2 separate regions of the Homo sapiens genome follow, and region 2 is linked to region 1. The links are contacts of gene promoters, found by promoter capture Hi-C in blood cells and fetal thymus (Javierre and others, 2016). All regions are on one chromosome and are shown on one strand. Each heading gives the region's core, a stretch centred on a gene start or on the middle of the fragment in contact. The rest is flanking DNA. Distances are from core to core; before and after follow the strand shown.

Evidence for each region. Contacts are between HindIII fragments. The CHiCAGO score rates a contact against its expected background, and 5 or more counts as called.
Region 2: a fragment that was not itself captured here is called in contact with the fragment with the promoter of HEYL in region 1 in 1 of 17 cell types (fetal thymus); the score reaches 5.9 in fetal thymus.

Annotation. Positions count from the first base shown.
Region 1 is chr1:39,635,712-39,643,373 of GRCh38, forward strand. It overlaps HEYL (hes related family bHLH transcription factor with YRPW motif like), which reads right to left and starts at 3,932. Exons shown (of 5, transcript NM_014571.4): 1 at 3,835-3,932. The coding sequence starts at 3,914. RefSeq lists silencers at 3,709-3,778, 3,899-4,288. The HindIII fragment of the contact is 7,834 bases long and covers 3,132-7,662 here.
Region 2 is chr1:39,113,772-39,121,433 of GRCh38, forward strand. It overlaps a transcript of MACF1 not described here and the pseudogene RNU6-608P. Among named protein-coding and RNA genes, the nearest start is that of MACF1, 87 kb to the right of the region's middle. The HindIII fragment of the contact is 3,974 bases long and covers 1,197-5,170 here.

The DNA.
Region 1 (7,662 bases), core at 2,682-5,181:
AATCCGCATCTTCTGGCTCCGCTTCAGCATTTTTTCCCTTCTAATTCCTACTTCCTGTCTGTCTGAATAGCCCTCCGGTCCCCTTATTTTTAAAGTTCCCAAGAGCCCAGCCAGAGCTCCCTTCCAGCCCGCGATCTGGCCCTGACAGTGGGATGAGGTGTGGGATTCTCTTGTCTGAGAATCTGAAAATGACACAGATTTTCATGGACCCAGAGAAGATATGTTGACCATCAAGATCTGCTCCATAGGCCTCTAGTGGCTCCTAGCCAGAATTCTGGGGCGGTCTCTTATGGGGGGAAGCTTTCCAGGTGGTCCTGACCACCCTCAGTGCTGACTTCCCCTGGGAACTCCCCCGTGGAACCCTTGCAGATGACCCTAATCATTTTGTGTCAGCCAAAGGCAGAATCACAATGTCCCAAATGAAGGAATCTCAGAGAGAACTGAGTCCATTTGTAAAATAAGGAAACTCAGAGGGGAAGGGATCTTCCCCAGGCCACACAGCAAATTAGAGGAAAATCGGAACTACAGCCAGGTCTACTCTAGTAGCTTTTTTTTTTTTTTCTTTTCTTTTTTGAGACAGAGTCTTACTCTGTCACCCAGGCTGGAGTGCAGTGGCACAATCTCAGCTCACTGCAACCTCCGCCTCCCAGGTTCAAGTGATTCTCCTGTCTCAGCCTTCCAAGTAACTGGGACTACAGGCACGTGTCACCATGCCCAGCTAATTTTTTGTATTTTTAGTAGAGATGGGGTTTCACCATATTAGCCAGGATGGTCTCGATCTCTTGACCTCGTGATCCACCCACCTCAGCCTCCCAAAGTGCTGGGATTACAGGCGTGAGCCACCGTGCCCGGCCTCTAGTGGCTTTTAATCTGGGGCTTTTGCCAGTGCACCCCATATATACATCATCCCGTCATGTAGATCTCAGAGCCAGTGCTTTTTGTTCTATACTGCACTTCCACATCCATTTGTCTAATTTATTGCACAATAGCACTGTAAGTGAAGTATTTTTTGGGCCATTTCACATTTAGGAAAAATAATCATTTTACAGGTGGAGTGACAGAGACACTGGAGTTAAGAATCACTCCAGTAAGTCCAGTCTTCACACTTCCGGTCTTTTCATTAGACCATGCTGTCTCATAAATATGTTGCCCCCCAACTGAATGGTGACCGCTTTGACAGCAACGTTTATTGGAAGTTACTTTGTGCCAAAGCAGGGAGCTATGTAACTTTATGTATGTTACTTCATCAAACCTTATCCTGCGAGGCAGGAGTGCTAATGTATTCCCATTTTGAACGCGAGAAAACTGAGGTTCAGAAAGGGGTAAAAGTCACTGGCCAAAGTTAATGGTGGTAAAATTCAAACTCAGGTCTATCTGACTCCAAGACCACCACCTTATATTGTGCAGGAACAGGACCCTGATCCAGTGTCTGACATGTGGCAGGTGCTCATTAGATGTTTGCAGAGGGAGAGGAGAGGCTGTACTCTCAGTTTGGACTCATCCTGCGTCATGGGGCCAGGTTGAGATGAGAGCTCTGTGGGTGAGTTTCACAGATGTGGCAGGACTGCCACCAGGCAGATGCCACAGTGATGGTGGAACACACCCTGCTCTTTACTCTCACGTTTCTGAGTGTGGGGGTTTTGCGCCCTGCCCCTGACCCCGAGAGGCTGGCTGCCTCCGTCCTGCGGCCTTTGTCAGTGTTTATCTGCTTTCTTTGTACATGAAGCTCTTCTTCCCTGAGAGTTCCCTGAGGGCAGAGGCTGAGCAGGATACATCTGGGCCCCCTATGCCCAGCCCAGGGTCTGGGCCACAGCAGGCATCGTTCAGTGCTCCCTGAATTGAAGCATTGATGTCTGCTGGGGGAAGGGCCCTTTGGTGAGTGCTACAAAGGGGCATCTATAAGTCAGCCTCTGCCAGATGTCCAGCTGCTTTCTCTCCTCAGAGGGGTCTGCTCCTCTAAGAACAGTGTCTAAAAATGGGCTCTGTATATATAGGAAATGCTGTATGTATAGGAAAAAACTGCCCACTGATCCTTTATGCCTCATGTAAGCAGTTGCCCAGATGCTACTATCTTCAAGAAGCCCTCCTTGCCATCTTTGATTAAGAGTGACCTCTCTTTGCTTAAGTGCCCTCACAGCCCACAGTCTGTCTCCTTTCCATCCTGTCCATGGTGTTTTTATGACCTGGCAGGTCACTGACTGGGCTGCAAACTTGTGGAGGACAGAAGCCAGCTCTGATCAACCTAGTTCTCTGGCATCAATTTTGTGCCTCTGATCTATGAAGACCCAATGCCATTGAATTTGAGACCCCGCTCCACCACCACCACGTGGTGCTGTGCCCTTTCCTGGCCCTTAACAGGCACAGGCTAAGATAACTGCTTTTCTAAATAGCAGTTTCTGCTAAACAATTAAGAAAGGCTAATACGTTGCATAGCGAGTTGTGTTATACTCCCTAAAAACAAATGTACAGGCTGCAAGAGGAATATCTATTATGGCATTTTCCTGGGATTTGAGACTGAGGCAGGATCCTTGGATCTCAGAAAACTGGAGAGCACTAAAATTACAAAATGTCCTCAAAAACATCCCTAAGAATTAACTGGGCCTGGCTCACTGGCTTATGTCTGTAATCCCAACACTTTGGGAGGCCAAGGCAGGAGGATCACTTAAGCCCAGGAGATCAAGGTTGCCATGAGCTATGATCATGCCACTGCACTCCAGCATGGGCAACAGAGTGAGACCATGTCAAAAAGAAAGAAAGAAAGAATTAACTGAATTCCCCTCCAATTCTGTTCTAGAGAGTCAAGTCTAGATGAGCCAAGAGAGATGAAGTATATCCCTTTCTTTTCCACTGCTGTCTTTGTTTTACTGATGGGGAAACTGATGACAGACTCTGTCAGGGAAACCAATGGCCCAAGACCACATAGTGAGTTGGTGGCAGATTTGGGGCTGGGACCCAGGTCTGCAGACTCCCAGTCAGCCCTGCAGCTCTTTCAGGGTGCTGGGAATCACATGGTGTGTACCTAGGCATGTGCTGTGCTAAGCCCTTGACATACTTTGCCTCATTTGGTTTTCCCAATATTTCCATGAAGTTGGTTCTATTATTCATGCTCATTTAACAGATAAGGAAACTGAAGCTTAGACAGTTTACAGAACTGCGAGGTAGCAGAACTATACAAGCGCAGTTTGTTCGACAGGTTTGAAGCAGGTCAGACTATCTACCAGGAGCTGAAAGACACTGGCAGTATGGGGGCACGATAGGAGGAACATTGGAATTAGAGTCTAGGCCCTTGCAAGTCGCTTATTATTTTCTTCAATACTAAGTCCCTAAATCCAAACTCCAATTTGCTCAAAGGAGGACAAATTTTCTTCTTCCTGAAATAATTTGTGGACTACATGAAAACTGCATCCAAACTAGGGTAAAATTGGGAAAGGATGGGGTTACTCTGCATCGTCAGCAGATTCCAGACAGGGGCCAGAGTACCATCAGTCTATGAGAGTTTTCTAAGATCTCCAGGGAAAACCTGCCAATGGCCTCCCCTAGGCCACTTCAACAGATAGATGATAACCCACTAGCCACCTGATCCCCCGAGCTGAACTCTCCCTCCCTGCCAGCATCCCCAGCCCTGCACGACCGAGAGCGCGCAGGATCCAGGCACTCGTGCGTGTAACGGCACGGCCCGCACACGCCCCCTACGCCGACACCTGTGGCCCCCGCGCTCACCTGCCTCTGCCCAGGCGGTGCTGGAGGGCTGGCCCGCCTGCTCGGCGAGCCCGTCGGGCCGACCCCCACCCCGCTCGCCCTCCGCCTGCTCGGTCCCCGCATCCCGGCCCTTACCTCAGCTGGCCCTCTTGGCCCACGTCGATGGGTCCGTCGGACTCCCCGTCGGAGCCGCTCGGCTCCTTGGGTCGCTTCATGGCGAACGCAGGCTGCCTGGTCTCAGCCCCGCGGCTAAGGCTCCCAGTCGGGAAGTCAGGCCCCGCCCCGGCCCCGCCCCGGCCCCGCCTCGGGGGCGCCGCCACCGCCCTTTCCCAGGGCCCTTTCCTGCGCCGCAGCTCCGGGCGCCCAGGCGCCCCCTCGCCCCCGCGGTGACGCGCCGCCGAGCCGTGGGAAGGCCCTAGGCGGTCGCCGCCTTCATCGACGGCTGGGAGGTCCGGCTCTGCTCCGCTGTCTCGGCTGCCGCGCGCTGGGTGGCCTTGGGCAGGTGCCCTGGGAGGCCCCGCGGGGAAGCCAGGAGTCCCCGTCTGTCCCTGGGTCGCCTGGGCGCTGCTGGCCTGTAGAGGCGCCGCTTCGATGCCCGGGATTCCGCAAGGGTCAACCCTGCGCGCTCCTGCCTCCTGGTGTTCTGGAGGCAGCAGACACATCAAGTTTGTCGAAGTTAGTCGTGGTGGTTGTGGCCTGATCCTCAGCAAGAATTCCCCAGCAGCAACTCCATAGGGGCCCAAAGCAAGTGGAATAGTGTGGTGGGGGCAAGGGGAAGACACTTACACTTCTGAGAGGTGGCAGTCACCCCCAAAAGGGACGGCTGAAGTTGTGGCCACCGCATCTGAGAAAGCTGGGCTCTGGCCGAGGTCCCTAAAGGCCTGGCGTGGTGGCAGTGGTGGGTTGTCCCTGGGAATCAGTTCCCAGTTCACCAGAGGTCGAGTTGTCCTGGGCGGCCAGGAGGCCAGGAAAGGGCTCCTTCTAGACGCTATGGCAGGGCCTCAAAGTGGGAGAAGGAGAGGAAAAGGGAAGATACCTTCCAGCCTCTCTTCCTGGGGCCTCTGCTTCTGGCAACCCATCAAACTGTTCACTCAGGGAGGGCTCTAGCTGCCCTGTCCTTAGGGGGACTTGTGGGAAGTTCTCAGATTCACCGGTCATCCTCAGGCGCCCAGTACCTCAGAGAAGCTCCTAAGGCTCCAAAGGAAGCTGCATGAGAGCATCCTGGAGCTGGACTTCTTGGGCAGGGAAGAGGAGATAGAGGAGGTCTTGGTGTGCTGGGTTAGATATGAGAGGTCTTTTCCTTTTTACCCGCCACCAGGTCAGGACCTGAGGGAAGCCACCCCTTCAAGTGGGAGAATCGGGTTGGTCATCTGAGAATAACTGTGCTTCCATCCCCACAGCAAGGCCTGCTTGCTGGGGGACACTTGATTACTTGATGGGAAAGAATGTTCCTGTGCCCCCGTCCACACACATCCACAGACACAACCATTTGGCCAGGTATGCAAACACATACACACGGACAGACTTACAAATATATACTGGTAGGCGCAACTGTCGTGAGCAATCAGTACCAGGAAGCCCTGGTGGTCGCCCCAGCCACAACTATGGACTCTCATTCCAAATGCCCTCAGCACTCACATCACTTCTGTGGGCACATGCCAGTCAGTGGAAACCTCAACTAACAGAGAAGTTGCACAATGTGTTATGCATTCCCTGGAAAGGCGGAAGTCAAGGAAGCCTCCCAGATAGCTGCCCTGTGTAATTGGCTGAGATAGCAAAGATTGGAAGAGGAGCAGATTTGCAGGGGAAGGTCAAGGGCCCCGTGATGGACGTTTCATGTGAGATGTCTTGGATCATCAAAATACAGTGCACAGTTAAATAGAGGGTATGGAGTTCAGAACAGAGGTCTCAGCTGGATATTAAATTTGGACGTCATTAGGTAATTGATGGCATTTAAAGCTATGGGAGCAGATGGGATCATTCAGAAAACGTGGATGGAGACAGAGCAGGGGCCTAGCTAAATACTTAACATTTGGTGAGCCCTTATTATAAAACCTGAAACTATTCTAAGTCTTTTGTAAATATTAACTCATTTAATCCTTGACAACCCTATAAAGTAGTAATATTATAATCCCCACTTTACAAGTGAGAAACAAAGGCTGAGAGGTAGACTAACTCCACCTAAGGCCAACAGGCAATAAATGGAAGGGCTGGAATTCAACAAGGCAGTTCAGTTCCAGAGCCAAAACATTAGGCTTTATTACTTTATACAGTACTCCCCCTTCTTTTAAAAATAAAGACAAGGATTCACTCTGTCACCAGGCTAGAGTGTAGTGGTGCCATCGTAGCTCACTGAAACCTTGAACTCCTTGGCTCAAGTGATCCTCCCACCTCAGCCTCCTGAATAGCTCAGACTACAGGGGCATACCACCATGCTCAGCTAATTAAAAAAACAACATTTTGCCAGGTGTGGTGGCTCACGCCTGTAATCTCAGCACTTTGGGAGGCTGAGGCAGGCGGATCACAAGGTCAGGAGATCGAGACCATCCTGCCTAACACGGTGAAACCCCATCTCTACTAAAAAATACAAAAAATTAGCCAGGCGTGGTGGCAGGCACCTGTAGTCCCACCTACTCGGGAGGCTGAGTCAGGAGAATGGCGTGAACCCGGGAGGCGGAGCTTGCAGTGAGCCAAGATGGCGCCACTGCACTCCAGCCTGGGCGACAGAGTAAGACTCCGTCTCAAAAAAAAAAAAAAAAAAAAAAAAATTTTTTTTGGTAGAGATGAGATCTCACTATGTTGCCCGGGCTGGTCTTCAACTCCTGGGGCCAAGCAATCTTCCCACCTTGGCCTCCCAAAGTGTTAAGATTACAGGAGTAAGCCACTACACCCCGTCAATTATACAGCTCTTAAACATTGTGATATATTATCCAGTACTGAGCCTAGAGCTATGCCATCAATATAATAGCCACGAACCCCCTATGGCTATTAAGTACTTGAAATGTGGCTGGTCTGAATTGCTGTATGTGCAGTGAGTATGAAATACACACCAGAATTTTTTTAAGTGTGAACTATCTCATTGATATTTTTTGTTATGATTACATGTTGCAATGATAATATTGTATAAATATTGGATGAAATAAAATACATTAGTAAAGTTAACTTCCCTTGTTTTATTTTTAGGTTTTTAAAAATGTGACTACTAGAAAATGTTAAACTGCATATTTGGCTCCCATGATATTCCTATTGGATGGTGCTAATCTGGTGCAGGGTTTCTTAACCTCAGGACTACTGGCATTTTGGGTCAGGTCATTCTTTATTGTGTAGGGCTGTTCTGTGGATTGTAGAATGGTAAGCAGCCTCCCTGGCCTCTATCCACTGGATGCCAGTTATACCCGCTCCAGTTGTGACCATCAGAAATATCTCCAGATAAAATACCAAATGTCCCTTGGGGGAGAAATCGCCCCCAGTTGGGAACCGCTAGTCTGGAGAAACTCCAAGATTTAAAGGTTGTAGAAGAGAAAGAGCTGCCAGAGAAGACTGAAAGGGCAGTGGAGGAGAGTGGGGTGTGTGTGGGGGGGTGTGGGCAGGAGCCAAAAGAGTGTTTCAAGGACTTGGTCATGATCCTTTTAAAATGCCAGTCAGATCATGTCACTTCCTGCTCAAAACCATCCACACGCTTCACATCCCATTTGAAATAAAATGCCAACTGCTTACCATGCCCTATACACAGAACAACTGTAATAACCTGGGCACCTTTGAGAGTGAAAGGAGGCAATACTAATAATCATGCCAGGGCAGTTCAGGGCACACTGGAGGTACCATCTCCTAAGCTCAGGCCCCTGCCCATCTCTCCAGCTTCATCCCCAACCACTTTCTGCCTTGTCCACTCACCCACGACAGCCTTCTTGCCATTTGTATTGGGCCATTCTCACATTGCAGGGGCCAGAGCTTAGGATGACA
Region 2 (7,662 bases), core at 1,934-4,433, 520 kb before region 1:
ACACCTGTAATCCCAGCACTTTGGGAGGCCGAGGTGGGTGGATCACCTGAGGTCAGAAGTTTGAGACCAGCCTGGCCAACTTGGCGAAACCCCATCTCTACCAAAAATACAAAAATTAGCCAGGCATGGTGGTACATGCCTGTAGTCCCAGCTACTTGGGAGGCTGAAGCAAGAGAATCGCTTGAACCCAGGAGGTGGAGGTTGTAGAGAGCCCAGATTGTGCCACTGTACTCCAGCCTGGGTGACAGAGTGAGACTCCGTCTTAAAAAAAAAAAGGTCCCATCGTTGCTCACTCCATTTTTTCCCAAGCATCTACCTGTTGGTCAGCTTGCCTCTCTATCCCCTGCCCCTACACACCCCCACCCAACAACCACAGAAAGCATATTGTCTAAAGCTCTGTATACTTTACTGTTTTTTTTTTTTTTTTACAATTTTCCACATTAATATGTGTTCATAATATGAAAAGAAATTATTCAAAAATATAAATCAGTTGGCTTCCCTGGTGGTCTAGTGGCTAGGATTCGGCACTTTCAAAAATATAAATCAAAGTCCATGACTCTAAAAATAACATATGCATTGATATGCTCGCCCCTTTGACCCTTCTCTCAAGAGAAATTCCCTGCCAAGTAATCCACATACATAAGAAGTGTAAAAAGTCCCTAGATTAAAAGAGCATAAAACTTCATTATGGAAACACAGTAGTCCCAGCTATTTGGGAGGCTGAGACAGGAGGATCACGAGTCCAGGAGTTTGAGGCTACAGTGAGCTATGATCACGCCATTGCACTCCAGCCTGGATGACAGAGGAAATATTAATTTTAGAGTAATCAGAGAAAGCCGCATGAAGAATAAATTAATAAGTATTTATTGAATGTCTACCATGAACCAGGGAGTAGGTGATGTGCTGAGAAGACAAAGATATTGTCCTTGTCTCTCTATGATCTTACTGTTAAATGGAGGAAACATATTGGCAAACTGACAGTTACTGTCTATTGTAGGGAGGGCTATCATATAGATAAATGCTGATGCTGTGGTAGTGAAGAGGAGTACCCAGTATAGCCAGAGTGAGAAAGTGTCCAGGAAGGCATCCAAGAGTAAGTGAAACCTGAACTGTTACCTAAAGGATGTGGGACCCTGAGCAAAAAGTTTGGGGAAAGAGCATTCTGGGCAGCATGAACAGAAGTAAGGGGATGAGCAAGCTTGAGAGGGGGAATATTGGGCATTGATAAGGTTGGAGCATAGGATGTGAGGGAAGGAGAGATGAGATGAGATAGGGAGAGTGGGCAGGACAAAAATGTTGACTGGCTTTGTATGTCATATTGTATAGAGCTTGGACTTTATCCTAAAGGCTTTTGGGAGCCATTGAATAAAAGTAGGCAAGGAAGACTATGCTTAGATTTACATTTTAGGAGTACTTTTCCTCTGGCAGCAGTGCCAAGGAAGGTAGGGGCGAGGAGGAAAGACTAGTGGCAGACAAGTTAGGAAGCTGTCACAGGAATTTAGGCAGGGAGTGAAACTAAGGTTGTGAAAATAGTAATGTAATAAAGCAGGCAAATCAAGAAATGTGAAGGGGTAACATCCATGTGTTTTGATGACTAATTGTATGTGGTATATGAGGGGGAGAGGGAAGAACCTAGGATGACTTGGAGGTTTCTGGCTTGAGTATTTGTGTGGGTGGGTCGTGTCATGAACTAAAATAGAGAATATAAGAGGAGGAAGGTTATTTTCTGTGAAGTGGTGGCAGTGATGGTCCACGAGAAGATACTGAGTTTAATTTAGGTTACATTGCGGTCGAGGCTTCTGAGGGATGCTAGGTAGAGATGTCCAGGAGGTAGTTGGTTGTAATGAACATGAAACTTAGGAGAGTGATAGGTGAGAGGGTGAGAGAGTCATCAGCTTATCAAACCACAGCCATAGGAGGGGAGAAGGAGCTGGCTTTAGGAGTGTATGTATATTGAGACAAAAACTCTGGGGAACTCCAACAGGAGAGTGGTGTCAGAAGCAGAGAAAGAGGATCTCCTGAAGGAAATTGTCCACAGAAAGGGAGTGGCCAGAAAGGTAAGAGGAACAGGAGAGAAGTGAGTTTCAAGGAGAGTGTGACACACATTGTAGATTATGCAGAGGTCAAATAAGGCAAAGACTACAGATGTCCAAAATAAAGGTTACTGCTACTGGAACATTTTCAGTGGAGTTGTGGGAAGTGAATGGAAAGTGCAGAAGAGGAGTCAGTGACCTTTGGAACTTGGACTTTGAAGGAAGAGAGAGGAGGAAGACAGGTGAAGAAGGGTGGGGAGAGTTTTGTTTATGTATTGTAACACAGGAGAGACTTGAGCATGTTTATTTTAAGTGCTGTTTTGAAAGAGCCAGTAGAGAAGGAAGATATAATACAATTCAAAGACGGGGAGAAAAATTGATGGAGCATGGGCTCTAGAGTCAAAAGTTGTGTCTTTTAGAAAGATCAGAGGGTTAAAAATAAGAATGCAGGTGATTAAGTTGGTTGGTTAGAGGTGTAGGAACTTGAGGGAATTTCTCCTGATGCTCATACTCTCTCTATGAAGTAGGAGGTGAAGTTATTTGCTGAGAGTCAGGAGGAAGGAAAGAAGGGGTGAGTGTGTATGTGTGTGTGTGTGTGTGCACGTGTGTGTGTGTATGTGTGTGTGTTTTCCCTCTAGCCCTAGAAGCACTCAACAACCTGATTGTAATAGATTCCAAGGCAGACAGGTAGATTGATCTAGGATCAGAATTTTCCAGCATAGTTTTGACGGAAGAATATGGGGTCCTTGTAGTTTGTCTTAAAATGTAGCATCAGTTTGATTATTGATTGTTTGTACTGTTGTTCTCTGGCTGGCTTGTATTTTGGCTCCCCAGTGAAATTGTCTACTCCTCTGGGAAGAAGCATATATGTAACTTTTGCATTCCTGCCTGTCATTTAGCTAAATACTATGCAGAAATTAATTCTTAAGTTTTTGTTGAGATAATTTGACTTTTGGACAGGACATCTTGACTCTTGACATAGAGAGAGGCTTTCCTCACTTGTGGTCTTTAATCCCCATCTCATTATCTGACATGGATAGTGGAGGATTCACTCACTCTCCATGAGTGAACTCCAGGCCTAGCTTCTTCATTAGTCTTAACAGGTTAGCTTTACTACTCTCCCCAGGGCAGTTGAGCTTTGCTTTCCATGAAGGTTATGTAGTTAATTTGTACTAGGCTTGTGAAGACCTGGGTGTTTACAAGACTGGACAGAGAGGCTGTTGTGGAAAATGCAGCCTCCTTCTTGTTTATTTTGGCAGGCAGGCAATGAAGGAGATAGATTTGTTCTCATGACTCAGAGCCCTACCTGCTTTACCTTAACAGGTTCAATATAACCACCACCTTTCAGATGTGATAGTGTCCTTCAGAGTTTATCTGACCTTTATATCTAAAAAGAGTATTAGTTACCCTTTGCCCTCTACTTGCTTGGTTTTTTTTCACTTTTATTCCAGTGTAGAGGATATTTCCTAATGTGTTAGGGCCAGCTCAGAATTGATGTAGTTCTTTCCCATTGGCACATTCCGCATCTTTGTTTGTTTATTGCCATGTTCGCCACAGTGTGCCTTGTTTTGCGCTCCTTGTTTTGTGAAGCTGGACTCTTATCAGATAAACTTGCCATGAGTCACACTGGGGAGTGGAAGTATGTCTCCACTAATTTGGAGAATCTTTGATCTTGTTTCACTCCCTGGTTTGGCTTGTCCAGTGCAATTTGTCTCTCAACCTGCAAGAGGTGTGTGTGTGTGTGTGTGTGTGTGTGTGTGTGTACTTGGGTGTCCCTTGCCTGTGGCTTCACCTGTTGCCATGAATGGTTGACTTCAGGGCATGCCCCTTTGTGTATACAGACTTCCTCTACTATTGTTATCACCATCAGCAAAAATGTCTCTGTTAAGAGCCTCTTTGAATGTAGAATATAGTATATAACACTGAGAGTTCATAAACCCTCTGTCCTCTAGGGATTTACAGTATATAATACACATTACAAATGACAAAAGACAATAAAGAATGTGTAAGCGGTTGAACAAATAATGGATTATTGCTCCTCATTTAGCTATCATATTCACAGTAGAAGATATCCTAAAAAGACATGTAGTCAGTGAGGAAGAGGATTAACAGAGACCAGATCATCTTCAGCTCCAACTAAGATGGCAGAGAGCTGCCACCTGTGGCCCTTTGATGCCAGGTAATTTCTCTCTGATATCCTTTCTAGTCATGCAGGACCTTTTTGCCATATTATCTATACATATGGGGCAGGATCCTAACAGGACCTTTGCTCTCTAGTGGTAACCTGTCACTGAAATGGGAGGCTCCAGTTTCCAGCAGGGAGAGTGCCTGGAAGGCTTGGCTCTTCTGGTACAGTTATCTTTGTAACTTGAGAAAATTTATTCCAGACCTACTACAAACATTCGTGTGCTCACAAGCACCACAGACAGAGCAGCAGCCAAAGCTAGCTGCAGCCTGAGCATGGGTCAGTGTAGGGAAAGAAGCTAACTGACCTGGCCTGAGTCACCTCTAGAGGGGAAGAATGTAGGACTTGTCCCAGCCTTTGTTGGTTAGTTTCCCAAATGGAAAACAGGGACCAGAGTAGGTGGGGTACTTTGAGGTCCTCATACCTTTCAGAGGACTGGATCCTTGTTTTCATTCTTGTTCTTATTGTTAATAAGTGTAATAACAGTATTCATGTAACACTGCCTTTATTAGGAAGAATGAGGAACTGCCAAAGGGCTGGAAATTTTCTTTACTTTCCCTGTGGGAGAGAAAGATAGATGGAGCATTAGGTGCCCATCTCTCAGGCCTCCTTTCTCTGATTATCCTGTGGGAAGTACCTGGAAAGCAGTGAGGCATTGGAAGGAATGGTCTAGGCCTTGGCATGAGTATGTGGTCGTGAAGGCATAAGACAAAATATCTTGTGTAGCTGTAGCACAGGTGCTGTGGTAAGAGGAAATAGGTTTGGGGGCAGTATTAAGGGGGCTAATAAGCGCAGAAAATAGTATTTGTTGCTGTCGTTAGTTACTTCACTTTGCCTTGCCTATATGTATTGTCTGACAGCAGAGCCGAAACTCCAGCATCCTTTTGTCTCCTCCTCCTCCTCCTCTTTTTCTTATTTTCTGACTTATAAAGATGTATATCTTCAATAAATAAGCTTGTGATGATATGGAAAGTTAAATAAATAAAAGTTCTAGAAATTGGAAAACTAAATGGTGATTTCATTGTGGTCTTTAAATATAACAAGTGTTATAGGCCACGGTGGCTCACACCTGTAATCCCAGCACTTTGGGAGGCCAAGGCGGGCAGATCACCTGAGATCAGGAGTTCTAGACCAGCGGGACCAACATGGAGAAACCCCGTCTGTACTAAAAATACAAAATTAGCTGGCGTGGTGGCCCATGCCTGTAATCCCAGCTACTTGGGAGGCTGAGGCAGGAGAATCGCTTGAACCCGGGAGGCGGAGGTTGCGGTGAGCCGAGATCGCACCATTGCACTCTAGCCTGGGCAACAAGAGCGAAACTCCGTCTCAAAAAAAAAAAAAAAAAAAAACAACCAGAAAAACAAACAAGTGTTATAATTGTAATTCTTGTAATTCCTTAAGCCAAAACTCCATTATAACATTTCTTAGTTTGTTGTTGTTGTTGTTGTTGTTACTTTTTGTGTGTATTTGTTTGAACTTCCCAGCTGTATTGTGATCTCTTTGAAGGTCTAGATTGTGTCTGATGAGATGCATATGATGCACTTCATGAATTGAGCTACTTTGCAAATGATGCTGGTTGTTTTATTTCTTAGTGTTTTCAGCAACTTCCAGCACCTTTCACAATGTTTCTTTCCACGTGGTTGTCCCACAGATGTTGCATACTTGATATGTCCAAAAGGGGCATTGTTGTCCCCCTCCCTGCTCCTGGACCTGCCTCTTCTTCTATGTTCCCGATTTTAGTGAATGCTTTTCCCGTCCATCCAGTGGAGAAATTCTAAATACTGAATGCTTTGTGTATACTAAATATATATTCTGTCCATTTCATAGTTTAAAGTGTTGCTATCAGATGGAGAATTGTAATGTGCAGAATATAATAAAGCCTCTTTTTTTTTTTTTTTTTTTTTTTTTGAGACAGAGTTTTGCTCTTGTTGCCCAGGCTAAAGAAGTGCAATGGCATGATCTCGGCTCACCGCAACCTCTGCCTCCCAGGTTCAAGCGATTCTACTGCCTCAGCCTCCTGAGTAGCTGGGATTACAGACATGCGGCACCACGCTTGGCTAATTTTGTATTTTTTAGTAGAGACGGGGTTTCTCCATATTGATGAGGCTGGTCTTGAACTTCTGATCTCAGGTGATCCACCTGTCTTGGCCTCCGAAAGTGCTGGGATTACAGGCGTGAGCCACCGCACCTGGCCAATAAAGCCTCTTTATACCATTTTCTAATTTCTATTTCATAGAATTTTAAAACTGCATAAGCCTTTAACCTCTGTTTCTCAAATTCACTTTCCCCTTTGGAATGTTATAATTCTACTTCACCTGACTCCTGGAACTCCCTGTTATCATGTAACATATTTTAATTATTTTGATTGTTGTCTGAGTCTTCCTACTACAAGAGTGAGACTGAGTCTCACTCTTGGCCAGGCTGGAGTGCAGTGGCGCTGTCTCTGCTCACTGTAACCTCTGCATTCTGGGTTCAAGAGATTCTCCTGCCTCAGCCTCCCGAGTAGCTAGGATTACAGGTGTGCACCACCACACTTGGCTAATTTGTGTATTTTAGTAGACACAGGGTTTCACCATGTTGGCCAGGCAGGTCTCGAACTCCTGACCTCGTGATCTGCCCGCCTTGGCCTCCCAAAGTGTTGGGATTACAGGTGTGAGCCACCACACCCGGCCAACAATGCAAACTTCTTTTAAAAATTTGTTTTTAAATTTTTTGTGGGTACATAATAGGTGTATGTATTTATGAGGTACATGAGATGTTTTGATACAGGCATGCAATGTGAAATAAGCACATCATGGAGAATGGGGTGTCTATCCCTCAAGCATTTATCTTTGTGTTGCAAACAATCTAATTACACTCTAAGTTATTTTAAAATGTATAGTTAAGTTATTATTGACTATAGTCACCCTTTTGTGCTATCAAATAGTAGGTCTTATTCTAACTATTTTTTAAAAATGTGGAACACTTCACGAATTTGTGTGTCATCCTTGTGCAGGGGCCTCCCTAACCTCTCTGTTGTTCCAATTTTAGTATATGTGTTGCTTAAGTGAGCACTAGAATGCAAACTTCTTAAGAATAGAGGTTTTTATTTGTGTATTAACTAATTTCCCTAGCACCTAGAAGAGTTTCTGGTATAAAGTAGCTGCTCCAATCAATATTGAATGAATGAATTGGAAATGTTAAGTTAGTTCACTCTTGTTCCCCATAAGGAAAAGAGGCATGGAAAGGCACAATAACTTGCTCAAGCTAACGCCATATCTCCTTACCAGGTAAGTGGGTTTTAAAAAAGTTTAAATAAAACGATGCTTAATCACAGTTCCTTTATGTGATTTGGTACTAATGTGTATTATGGACTTAACTGTATTATCTCTATGAAAAGGGGTGGGGGAAGCAAAAGGGAAGAAGCTAATATATATTGAGTCCTTACTATATGCCGGGTATTTT